Linked DNA regions of Homo sapiens: region 2 is linked to region 1. Evidence: promoter capture Hi-C in human tissues and cell types (Jung and others, 2019). All regions are on one chromosome and are shown on one strand. Each heading gives the region's core, a stretch centred on a gene start or on the middle of the fragment in contact. The rest is flanking DNA. Distances are from core to core; before and after follow the strand shown.

Region 1 (3,896 bases), core at 856-3,355:
GTCATCTATTTTATTTGACTTCAACACGAGACAAGCCACACTCTGTAGGAGAAGGGGAAGGGCACCGCTCAAGATGGCTTCAGTTAGGGTTAGAGACAGGGCCGGCTCCAGAGGCAGCCAGGGTCAGGTTGAAGCTGCAAGCATCCCACTTGGCCTCCACCTTTGAGCAAGCCAGTAGTCCAGGCCTTCCCACAGGCTCCTGGAGAGAGGAGAGGGCACACATCCCCAGTAGTAACATACAACCACCTCCAAGCTTTCCAGCTATTTTGTACGCAACGCAAGATGTTCAATAAAAACATCACAGGATATGTAAGAATTAGGAATAAATTATTGCTAATCAATAAAACAACAATAGAAATAAACCCACAGTTCACTCAAATGTTGACATTAGCATACAAGTACTTTAAAAATTCTAATGAGAGCATTAAAGAGAAAAAGATTACTAAATTGATTTTTTAAAGATGAAAAAATTTTAAAAATAACAGGATGTGTAAGAGGCAGAAATAAGGGACTATAGTATGAATTATTTCTACACCACCATACTTCTGACCCTAAATATGTGAGTTTTTACACACAAACCAGTTCTCCAACTCTCTGGACACTGACCGTCCAACATTTCAATTCAATTCTGACACTGCCTTGAGCAGGGCAGACCCCACAGGTGAAGGGCTCAGTCCCACCCTAATGCCCCCACTTCAGATGCCAATCACAAGTCTGGGCCACGTGTACTTCTGACTGCCCAGTTATAAATCAAGGGTTTCCAAGACCACCTCCTCCTAGATAATTTGCTAGAACAGCTTACAGAGCACAAGAAAACAGTTTACTTACTATTACCAGTTTATCACAAAGGTGACAACTCAGGAACCGTGAAACGGAAGAGATGCATGGGGCAAATACAGGGTAAGCTTAAGATGGCTTCAGACAAAAAGAGTAGGAATATCTTATTATCAGCAGACCCACTACAAGAAATATTGAGTTCATAACATATATAGAAATAAAGTATATGACAATATCACAAAGCAAAGGAGGCTGTAGAACTGAAAGGCAGAAACAGTTACGTCAGCGTCGGCGAGTGCAGGCTTCCAGGCAAAAAACATTGCAAGAGGTGACAAGGACAGACACTTCAGAGCCGAATGCAGTTTCGGACACTGAGAGTCCATTTTCTGACTATGGTGGCATTAAGCAATAAGTCACCCCAGAAGGATTAACTGGAAAATCCTCATCTGTTTGGAACTTAAGAACACACCTCCAAATAAGAAATAGACCCCCAAATCCTTCTCAATAGAAGTCAAGAATATTTTGGGCAAAGTCATAATAAAGAATGAAAAATAGAAACCTGGCAGAAGTAGCCTGAAGGGACACGGAAGGAAAAGCAGGGCTCCATTAGAAAAGGCAAAAAGACTGGAAACGAAGGCCTCCTTCTCTCCTTCGAAAGCAAGGAGCCAGAAAAGAACGAGCAGCAGAACGTGGAACAGGCTGCGGCCCGAGACCCGCGCCTTGGGGAATCACAGACAGTGTGGGGGTGGGCGGCCCCGGGACACCCCGAGGGAAGGGGACTCAAGAACTGAACGGAGCCCCAGCCCCAGACTCTCGAGGGAAGTTGAGCTGTAAGGGGAGGGGGGCCCCAGGGAAGCGGAGTTGGGGTGCTGGCATCTCCCTGGGACCCCTGAGCATAGTTGGGGGGTCTCCCTGGGACCCTGATGGGAGTGGAGCTCGAGAGGTCCCCCAGTACCCCTGAGAGGAGCTGAATTAGGGGGTCTCCCTGGGACCCTGAGGGGAATGGAGCAGGGGGCGTCTCCCCAGGAACCTGCGGGGAGTGGAGTTTTGAGGGGTCCCCCTGGCACCCCTGAGAGGAGCTGAGTTCGGGGGGTCTCCCTGGGGCTCCGAGGGGAGTGGGGGCACCCCATCCAGGGAAGCGCGGCGCACCCCCGGCGGCGTCCTGGCGGCCCAAGCAGCTGACGAGGAGGCTGCCTCAGCTGGGCCCCTGGGCAGACTCCAGTCTCACGCCTGGGTCCCGACCCGCCTCAGGAAACTGACCTGTGCCCCTCGGAGCCCCGCAGTGTGCGTGCCCGCCGCCTCCAGCCATCTGAGCCTCCCGCGCCGACCTCCCCACCCGCTTTCTGGAACTTTCGGGGGCCTCCGCCGGCCGCACAGCCCCGCCCTCCTTCCGGACCCTCAAAGCCCCGTCCCCAGGCTCCAGGCCTCCAGCCCATCTGCCAGTGTTCAAAGGTGGGCAGGGTCCCCCTTGGGGCTCCCAGGTGAAAATATTTCTCACAGAAATCTGCACACCCTGGCTCCATCCACGCTCCCTTTAGGAAAGCCACGGGGAATGTTCTAGAAGCGCACGGCCCTGGCTGCTGGAGAAACGGGACAGCAGCCACCCTCGGCAGCCTGTTGGCACCGCCCAGGCCCACCCTGCCCTCAAGGTCCCAGTCCACCTGCCTCGTTCCTGGACCCTCCCTCTAGGGGGTCCCGCCATCACCATAACCCCTGGGGACCCCGGGAGCCCCTCCGCTCAGGGTGCGACCCCGTCGCCTCTGGAGCCGGCCCTGTCCCTAACCCTGACCAAAGCCAGCTTGAGCGGTGCCCTTGCCCTTCAGCCCCGCCAGCGCCCACCTGTGCAGAGGTTTCAGGGGGAGACCTGCCTGGCTTTCGCTTGAGCTCCTGCCATTTTGCCTTCAAGCTGTGTGTGGCCAGGGACAGCTGGCTTCACCCGAGCATCTCCTACACAGTGTGGCTTGGCTCTTGTCGAAGTCATATAAAATAGGTGAATTTCTGAAATTGAAATGTTTTATTTGGGAGGAAATAACTGCAATTAGGGGCACGGGGGCAGACTGGCTGGCCTTCAGTATGTCCAAAGAACAAAGAAAAGGCTTTTTTAAATTCGCGGTGGCTTACACCTGTAATCCCAGCATTTTGGGAGGCTGAGGCGGGCAGATCATTTGAGGTCAGGAGTTCAAGACCAGAGTGATCAACATGGTGAAACCCCGTCTCTACTAAAAATACAAAAATTAGCTGGGTGTGGTGGTGTGTGCCTGTAGTCCCAGCTACTCAGGAGGCTGAGGCAGGAGAATCCCTTGATCCCAGGAGGTGGAGGTTGTAGTGAGCCGAGATCGTGCCATTGTGCTCCAACCTGCAGGACAAATCAAGTCTCTGTCTCAAAAAAAAAGGAACTATGTCTCTTTTTTATAAAGAAGAGAAATAGTACATATTGCTGTCTGAGTTTCATTGGCACTAGTAGGATTTTGGGGAGCTGGCAAGCTCTGGTTGATGAGTGAATCAGTGACGGCAGTGGGTGAACCGAGGCTTAGAGTTGCAGCAGGTGGTCTCAGTAGCCATCAGATAAAACTGGTTTCAGGTTACCGCAGACAGTTTCAGCAGTCAGGCCTCAGAGAAGTACATTCTTGGAGCAATGTTTTCTATCCTGAGTGCTGAATGGTCTCCCTACCTGGCACTCTGCCTTAGTTGGGTGTGACAAGGGTGACCCAATTTGTATGCTCACCTTTCACACCGAATCCTCAGCTCGGACGGGTTTCCCTTTCTAGGCTTTGACTTTCCCCTTGAACCTCATCCCACACACCTGTTCCATCGGGGCCACTGGCTTATGATGGAGACCAGTGGTATGACTGTGGCAGGCTCCTTCTAGGGGCACTCTGTCTCCTGGGATCTGCCACACTGGGGGGGATTCTACTTGGCCTTCTCTGACTCCCCAGGGTCCCTCCCACCACAGCACTTGGAGGCTCTTCCATGGGAAAACTGTCTTGATCTTTAGGTACCTGGAGATTCTGGGCCACTTTGGTTCCCCGTGAGCCAAGACGGCACTCTGGTTTGCATTCCCTACCGGAGTCCCTGTCTGTAGCCAGCCTGGCTTTCAGCTGGTGCCCAAAGTGACAAAT
Region 2 (3,580 bases), core at 516-3,015, 63 kb before region 1:
GGTTCACGCCATTCTCCTGCCTCAGCCTCCCAAGTAGCTGGGACTACAGGTGCCCGCCACCACGCCCGGCTAATTTTTTTGTATTTTTAGTAGAGACGGGGTTTCACTGTGTTAGCCAGGATGGTCTCGATCTCCTGACCTCGTGATTCACCCGCCTCGGCCTCCCAAAGTGCTGGGATTACAGGCGTGAGCCACCGTGCCCGGCCACAACTCTTTTATCAATATATAATGACCTTCTTTGTCTTTTGTAACTTTTTTACATAAAGACTATTTTGTCTTATATTAGCATAGCCATCCAAGCTCCCTGGTTACTATTCCCATGAAATACCATTTTTCTACCTTTCACTTTCAACCTATTTGCATCTTTGGATATGATGTGAATCTGTTGAAGACCGCATGTAGTGGATCACAATTTTTATCCATTCTGCCTTTTCAATGGAGAGTTTGAACCATTTATATGTAAAGCAATTACTGATAAATAAGACAACTTCTATAATTTTTCTATTTGTTTTCTCTAGGTCTTCTACTGTTTATTTGTATCACAGAAATACAAAGGATTATAAGGCAATAGTGGAATCTATTTCTTTAGCTTGCATTAATCTGATGTTTTGACAAATTTGAGAGAGATTTTCTCCTTGAACACCAGGAGGAAAAGAAAAGAAAGAAAAAAAGAAAAGAAAAGAAAGAGGGGAAAAATAAAAAGACAAGAAAAATAATCACACTGTCTTTGTCTTTGCAGTTTGGGCCTGTTTTCGGGGCACTCCTGTAAACACAGCCAACACTGTCTTTGTCTTTGCAGTTTGGGCCTGTTTTCGGGGCACTCCTGTAAACACAGCCAACACTGTCTTTGTCTTTGCAGTTTGGGCCTGTTTTCGGGGCACTCCTGTAGACACAGCCAACACTGTCTTTGTCTTTGCAGTTTGGGCCTGTTTTCGGGGCACTCCTGTAGACACAGCCAACACTGTCTTTGTCTTTGCAGTTTGGGCCTGTTTTCGGGGCACTCCTGTAGACACAGCCAACACTGTCTTTGTCTTTGCAGTTTGGGCCTGTTTTCGGGGCACTCCTGTAGACACAGCCAACACTGTCTTTGTCTTTGCAGTTTGGGCCTGTTTTCGGGGCACTCCTGTAAACACAGCCAACACTGTCTTTGTCTTTGCAGTTTGGGCCTGTTTCCAGGGCACTCCTGTAAACACAGCCAACACTGTCTTTGTCTTTGCAGTTTGGGCCTGTTTTCGGGGCACTCCTGTAAACACAGCCAACACTGTCTTTGTCTTTGCAGTTTGGGCCTGTTTTCGGGGCACTCCTGTAAACACAGCCAGGAGGATTATAATTAGACACTGTCTTAGCATCTGTCCTGCCCTAGGAGCTTGTGGTTTTCTAGATTTCCCAGCATAGGTTGGCATTTCAAATCCTCTAGCTTCTCAAAGAAACACTCTTCCAAGCTTTTTCTTCTAGTGTTTTGACAAAGTTTTTTTTTCTTTCCTCAAGTTGAATCTTTTGCCTTTGATGATATCAGGTTACTCAGCTGCCTTACAATATTTTTGATGCGGGTCTTCCATAGCTACTTTTCCACTTGAATACATTCCAAGTTAGGCAAAACAAAGGCAAGGCCCTTGCATCAGTTCCTCAGGTAGTCCACAGAAAGGTTAGAACAAATAATGACAATTTTGGGGAATAAGCGCTGCCCTGATCCTTCTGTCTCCAGACCCCAGCATCCCACACTGGTAGCTTGAGCTGCCATCTTCAAAGACAGCCACTGATCTGGGGTGGGCAAAGCCAGAGCAAGTAAAGATACAGGAAAGCTTCTCTACAATGTAAGAGTTGTCACTTTCTTCATGTAGCATTTATGTGGTGGCCAGAAATAATTATTTTCCAGAGCCCTGACAAAGTTAATTTGTGCAGTTTTTGCTTGTTTTTTGAATGTTACTGTGATGGGTCACACATTTAGAGCTGCCCACCGCATTTTTGCTGAAGTCCTGGATTTCTTTGGCGATTTTAGAAATTAATAAAATTGGATGTAGTGATAGTTGTACATATTTGTGACTATACTACCAACCTTTAATTGTATACTTTCAGTAGGTGAATTATATGGTATGTGAATAACTTCTCAATAAAGCTATTTAAAAATAGAATCAGGCCAGGCATGGTGGCTCACCCCTGTAATCCCAGAACTGTGGGAGGCTTAGGCCGGACTTCAATACAACACTTTTAGCAATAAACAGATCATCCAGACATAAAATCAATAAGGATAAATCAGAATTGAATACATTTTAGACTAAATGAATCTAACAGAAATATACAAAACATTCGATCCAACAGTAGCGCAGTACACCTTCTTCTCAAGTGCACACAGATCATCCTCCCACATAGATAATATGTTAGATGAAAGAACAAGTCTTAAATTTAAGAAAATTAAAATCGTATCAAGTATCTTTTCTGGCAACAATATAAAACTAAGAAATCAATAGCAGCAGGAATTACAGAAAATTCACAAATATATAAAAATTAAACAACATGAACAACCAATGGGTCAAAGAAGAAATTTAAATAAAAAATTTAAAATATGTTGAGACAACTGAAAATGGAAACACAGTAGAGCAAAATATATGTAATGCAGTAAAAGCAGTTCTAAGAGGGATGTTTACAGCAACAAATGCCTGCATGAAAAAAGAAGAAAAATCTCAAATAAACAATGTAACATTACACCCAAAGGAACCAGATAAAGAAAAAAATAAAACCAATGTTAGCAGAGGGAAGGAAATAAGATCAGAGCAGAAGTAAACAAAATAAAGATTCCAAAAGCAATACAAAAAATCAACAAAACTAAGAGTTGGTTTTTTGAAAAGATAAACAAAATCAACAATCCTCTAGCTATACCAAATAAGAAAAAAAGAAGACTTGGGGTAAAATCAGAAGTAAAGGCTCAGAAGTAAAATCAGAAATGAAAGAAAAGACATTGTAACTGAAACCACAGAAATACAAAGCATTATAAGATTCTACTATGAATTATTGATTAACAACACATTAGATGACCTAGAAGAAAAGGATAAATTCTTAGACACACACAACCTACCAAGGCTGCATTATGAAGAAATATAAAATCTGAATGAGAGAAGAGAGACAGACCTTCTCATATTGTTTTATGTTGTTTTATACTCTGAAAAGGAAAGAGAAGCCAAACTAAAGGCAGGTGCCCCGGCGCCTAGGAACCAGACCCAAATCCAAGAAACCAGAACCGAAACCAAGCCTGGGCCTGACCTAAGCCTGGTAGTTAAAATTCGACCCCTGACCTAGCAACTGCTGTTATCTACAGATTACAGAAAGACATTGTAAAACTTCCCGGTCTGTTCTGTTTCACTCTGACCACCGGTGCATGCAGACCCTGTCACCTACCCCGTTTACTCAATCAATCATGACCCTCTCACGCAGACCCCCTTGGAGTTGTGAGCCCTTAAAAGGGACAGGAATTGCTCACTCAGGGAGCTTGGCTCTTGAGACAGGAGTCCTGCCGATGCTCCCGGCCGAATAAACCTCTTTCTTCTTTAACTCGGTGTCTGAGGAGTTTTGTCTGTGGCTTGTC

Evidence for each region. Contacts are between HindIII fragments. The study calls those that stand out against the background at their distance.
Region 2: a contact is called between a fragment that was not itself captured here and the fragment with the promoter of GML in region 1, in 1 of the 25 tissues and cell types used here (lymphoblastoid cells).

What each region holds. Positions count from the first base shown.
Region 1 is chr8:142,833,010-142,836,905 of GRCh38, reverse strand. It overlaps GML (glycosylphosphatidylinositol anchored molecule like), which reads right to left and starts at 2,105. Exons shown (of 4, transcript NM_002066.3): 1 at 2,038-2,105. The HindIII fragment of the contact is 25,891 bases long and covers 580-3,896 here.
Region 2 is chr8:142,895,839-142,899,418 of GRCh38, reverse strand. No RefSeq gene overlaps it. Among named protein-coding and RNA genes, the nearest start is that of CYP11B1, 18 kb to the right of the region's middle. The HindIII fragment of the contact is 4,037 bases long and covers 1-3,580 here.